Regions from separate parts of the Homo sapiens genome. Here region 2 is linked to region 1. The links are contacts of gene promoters, found by promoter capture Hi-C in human tissues and cell types (Jung and others, 2019). All regions are on one chromosome and are shown on one strand. The core of a region is centred on a gene start or on the middle of the fragment in contact, and the rest is flanking DNA. Distances in the headings are between cores, read along the strand shown. Region 1 holds the start of KCNK15 (potassium two pore domain channel subfamily K member 15). Region 2 holds the start of PABPC1L (poly(A) binding protein cytoplasmic 1 like).

Region 1 (2,516 bases), core at 13-2,512:
GAAACTTTCTCCAAGGCACTGGCTTTCGGACTGGTGATCCAAGCCCCAGGGGGGGTGCCGGGACGTTCACAGCTGGAGCCTGGGGAGTGGCTGGCACCAAGCCTGGAGCCCTGCAGAGCCCACTTCTCTCCTTCCTGTTCCCCCAGGTTTAGGCTCAGCAGGTACCAGCCAGATGGTAGTCATGGCAACAGCTGGTGGTCCAGATGCTCCAAAGGAACTGCTCTGCATCCCTGAGGGCAGAGTCCAGAGCCTGTGGTTATCAGTCATTCCTTTAACAAGTATTTATTGATCATCTACTGCATGCTAGGCACGGGTCATACAGCAGTCCCTAAGACAGACTGGGTCCCCATTCTCATGGGGTAACAATAACAATTGCAATAATAAAAAAATGATCTTTTCTTTGTAGTGCTCTGTATGTGTCATGTTTTAGCACAGGCCTTGTCTGTGCATAGTCTGTCTCCTGAATAATAACTCTCACCACAGCCCTGAGATAAGGCCGATTAGCGACACTATTTTACAGAAGAGAAAACTCTGGCTCAGAGAGGTTGAGCAACTCGTCTAAGGTCACACAGCAAGTGTGAGGCAACCAGGCAAGGAAAAGCAAATCCAGCCACTTGGTCTCCCAGCCCCGCTTCACCTATCTCCAAGCCCCTTGGACGTTTTCTGAGCACTCCTGGGTCAGCCTTTTGGCAAACTCGATTTACTGATTCCTCCCGTCCCTGCCTGCGTGGGCTGACAGCTCCATTCAGCAGAGGGGGGCAAAGGAGACCAGGGAGACGAGGGAGGCGAAGGAGATGAGGGAGGCTCGGTGAGCCGAAATGACCCGTCCAAAGTAGCTCAGCTGGGCGGGGGCAGAGGTGGGACCGAAACCCAGAGGCGCCCCGGGACGGCTGGGGCTGGAGCGGGCGCGGAGGGAGGCTCCGGGCGGCTCACCGATGGTAGTGATGACGGTGATGGCGAAGTAGAAGGAGCCGGGGAACTTCCACTGGCGGCCGGCGCGGTGGGGCTCAGCCTGGAGCGCCAGGCGCTCCAGCTCGCGGTAGTCCTCGGCCGAGAAGCCGAACTTCCTCCGGAGAGCGCCCCGCTTCTGGACCAGCAGTCGCTGGCGGCCGCTTTCCGCCTCGGACTCGAGCGCGTCGAAGACAGCAGCGCCCACCAGCAGGTAACACAGGGTGCACAGGACCAGCCCGGCCGCGCGCACGCTCGGCCTCCGCATGGCGCCCCGGCCCCGGTACCCGCCGCGGTCCCAACCTGCTCCGTGTGCCCGGACCGCGCGCTCCGCCCCCTCCAACCCCGGCCCCACGCGGCAGGGTTGTGACGGGCGAGGCGGGGCGACTGCCGGGAACCTGGAGGCTGGGATCGCCACGGGTGGGGGCCGGAAGAACCGCTCCCCTGTCCGCCTCCCACTCGCCTGCCCGGGGTTCATGTGTCTGTGAATAGTGAGATCTGAAGCAAAGGCCCAAACCCCGGGCCTGCAGAAGTCCTGTTCCCGCCACTAACTCATGTTGTGACCTCGTGCCAGTCTTCCGTCCTTCCTTCCGTCCTTCCTTCCTTCCTTTTTCCCTCCCTCCCCTCCCCCCTCCCCTCCCTTCCTCCCTCCCTCCCTCCTTTCCTTCCTTCCTTCCTTTCACTCCTTTCCCCATCCCTCCCTCCCTTCTTCCCTCCCATCCTTCCTCCCTCCGTCCCTCCCTTCCTCCCTCCGTCCCTCCCTTCCTCCCTCCGTCCCTCCCTTCCTCCCTTCGTCCCTTCATCTCTTCTTCCCTTCCTTCTCTCCTTCCTTCCTTCTTTCATTCAGTCAGTCAATCCTCTGACAAATATTTACCAAGCACCTACTGGTGCAAACAACATTCCTGTTGTAAGTAAAAGTGATATCCTAGTGAGGAGGGCCAGCTAACAAACAAGAAACTAATTTAAGACAGGAGTGAGAAAGAAGGAAAAGGGATAGTTTCTTGGGGAAGGTGAACCCCACCATCTAAGGTGGTGCTTAAAACAGAACTGAGCATGACTTGGCAGCCAGAATAGCAGAGGAGCCGGTGTCGCTGGAGCCCAGAGAACTGGGGGGCAGATACTTTGGGGGAGCAGAAGGAAGGCAAAGAGGCAACTTCACACAGGGTCTTACAAGCCCTTATGTGGGTTTATTGAAAGCCATGGAAAGGCTGTATTACAAACACAGGCAAACAAACACACACGCAACACCACCACAATGATCTGATTCATATTTTTTAAAGAGCCCCTGGCTGTCATGGGGAAAAGGGATGGTGGCTAGGAGTGGAGGCCAGTTCGAAGGCTAGTGTAGTCCAAATGTGTGAAGATGGAGAGAAATGAGGGGATCCGGGATGCACCGGGGAGGTGGAGTTGGGCGCCCAGCTGGCCACATTGCCCAGCCTTTCTTGCACTTAGCAGGGTCTATGTGACCAAGCTTTAGCTCATGGAACATGGGCAGAAGTGACATATGCCACTTCCAGGCCTGGCCCATAAAACCCTGCCCTACACGTGCTCCATCTCTTTCCCCCACC
Region 2 (2,516 bases), core at 6-2,505, 160 kb before region 1:
TTTTTGTATTTTTAGTAGAGAAAGGGTTTCGCTATGTTGGCCAGGCTGGTCTCGAACTCCTGACCTCAAGTGATCTGCCCACCTCGGCCTCCTAAGATGCTGGGATTACAGGCGTGAGCCACTGCGCCTGGCCTTATTTATTTATTTATTTATTTATTTATTTATTTATTTATTTATTTTAGGTTACCACTTAAGAGCGTTTACGAGGTAACAAGCAGTTACCATTCTTTATGCATAGACAGCAGTTCTCCATTCTTTATGTTATTGGAGAATACGCCTTAGCCCCATTTTGCAGATGAAAAGGTGCAGAGCGTGAAGGCTTGCCCAAGCTCACTCATCCTCTCCACTCTCAACAGAAGTGCAGGCAAACTCATCGGACAAGCTCTAATCAATGCTATCAGCTCTGAGAAAGCGGCCTTGCGGCCTGGAGGCAGCGGTTTTTCAGAGCCCGTGCAGGTAGAGGCGCCCAGTGTGGATCTCACGTCGCGCTGGGAAAGGCCTGAGCCCAAGGCTGGGTTCTCCTGCCTCCCCTGCTCACCAGCTGTGTTGCCTTGGGCATCTTCCTCACCAGGTGCTTTGAATCTCTCATCCTCACAAGCACTCTATAAGGCAGCTAGGACCCCCATTTTCCAGACACGCATCTGAAGCTCAGAATGGTCGAGTAACTTGCCCAGAGTCACACGGCTGCTGGGCTTCTATCCCTGGTCCGCCTGACCCCCACCCCCACCCCCACAAAGCCTGTATCTGTTTTCACTCGACCCTAATCTCTCTCCTCTGTAGAGGAATAGCAGTAAACCACACTAATTACCAATTCCCGTCTCAGGGGCCAGGCCTCTGCCAACGCCCTGTTATCTTTGAGCCTCAGTTTCCCCGGCTGCAAAGTGTAAGATGAAAGCGCAAGCGGCCCAGTTCCGGCTTCTGTCTGTCCGCCTGCTTGTCCGTCGGTCCTTCCCCTCCCGCCCCATCCCCGGGGCTCACCGTCCGCGGGCTGCTGGAAGTTGATGTAGGCGTAGCCCAGCGAGCGCCGGGTGGCTACATCGCGGCACACGCGGATGGACAGGATGGGGCCGGCGGGAGAGAACTTCTCATAGAGCATGGCCTCGGTCACGTCGGGGTGCAGATCGCCCACGTAAAGCGAGGCAAGCGGGTAGCCAGAACCGCTGGCGTTCATGGTGGGCAGGGGGCCGGGGCTGCGGGGCAAGCAGGAGCCGGGTCACCCAGCAGCCCCGCGCTCACCCGGGCGGAAGCCCTCCTTCCTGGGCGCGGGCCCGCCCCTTCCCTTTACCGCCCCCGCGTCCCTGCGCACCAATCGTGGGCGCGCTCGGACGCCCCTCCCCCGGGATCCCTCCTGGGCCCACCCCCCACCTGCGAGCACTTGGGGATCTAAAAGCTACAGGTGGGGACACCTCTGACCCCGCCCTGGGAGGCGGAAAAAGCCTTCAACCTGGCCTTGAGCAGGGCTGCTGGGACTTGAGTGGAGCTCTCAAAACCCCCAGCTCTTTTGAAAGAGCCGAGGACTGGGACGGAAAGGACGCAGGGGACTGAGTTCTAACCCCGGAACAGATGATCATCTTTCTGAACCCGTTTCCCTTCTCTGTAAAATGGGAATGATTCCCTCCTGACAAGAATGAAAGGAGACCCAAACCGCGCTTTTTGCGTTTCACACACAAACGGAATTCCGAACAGGCCACTGTTTCAAAGCTTGTGTAGAGAATTTTACCCTGCTCCATTGAAGATGTCTTCCTCCAGAGAGCCTGATCCAGTCCCACCGTTTCGCACCAAGGATGGAAATGGCTTTGAGACATGAGAACTGGAGACCACTAAGGCCTTTCTTGGTACTGGCTCATATTACCAAGACCCCTTTTCCTGGGATATTCCCTGTCCCTCTGCTAAGCCATTACACATCCATTACACCAGGGAGGTTCACTGAGTTACTTGTGGCTCAGCCTAAATGCGGACAATTGGGAACTAATAGCAGAGCAAGACCTAAACAGAGCAAGACTGTGAATCTGAGCTTGCAGCGTCAATCTGTGGTATAGGGACATTAAAAACAACACAAAAACAAAACAACTACTCCACTGAGCACCAATACTTCACTTTTCCTCTGATAGGACTTTCCTGGTCTCACTGATCCAACAGAGCAGGTAGGCCCCCACTGACTTTTGGTTGAGTGTGGCTTCAACAGGTGGAACAGCTCCTAAACTAGGGACAGAAGGTGCCCATCTGGCTGTCCAGCCTCAGAGTAGCAAGGAAGCACTAATTCTAATCTTGGGCTAAAAAAGACCCCTCTATCCTGATATTTTTCTCTCCTTGTGGTAATGTGGATGTTTTCAGAAGGGGCAAATCCTGTGAGGAACCAGCTCTGCAGGCCACCATACAGTGTGAGGACAGGTGAGACGCCAGCTTGGTGATGACCAAGACTTATGCAACCATAGGTTACCTATTTCACTGGCTTGGTTGTATCTCAGAGTTAAAAAATGGGGAAGGGATGGTGGGCTCGAATACAATGCAAAATA

What was found. The method cuts DNA at HindIII sites, captures the fragments that hold promoters and counts their contacts. A contact is called where the count stands out against the background at its distance.
Region 2: a contact is called between the fragment with the promoter of PABPC1L here and the fragment with the promoter of KCNK15 in region 1, in 1 of the 25 tissues and cell types used here (mesendoderm cells).

Annotation. Positions count from the first base shown.
Region 1 is chr20:44,744,611-44,747,126 of GRCh38, reverse strand. KCNK15 (potassium two pore domain channel subfamily K member 15) reads right to left here and starts at 1,262. Exons shown (of 2, transcript NM_022358.4): 1 at 934-1,262. The coding sequence starts at 1,216. It overlaps KCNK15-AS1 (KCNK15 and WISP2 antisense RNA 1), which reads left to right and starts at 900. Exons shown (of 5, transcript NR_132377.1): 1 at 900-1,162. The HindIII fragment of the contact is 14,439 bases long and covers 1-2,516 here.
Region 2 is chr20:44,908,799-44,911,314 of GRCh38, reverse strand. PABPC1L (poly(A) binding protein cytoplasmic 1 like) reads right to left here and starts at 1,255. Exons shown (of 15, transcript NM_001372179.1): 1 at 979-1,255. The coding sequence starts at 1,171. RefSeq lists a silencer at 1,072-1,401. The HindIII fragment of the contact is 11,748 bases long and covers 1-2,516 here.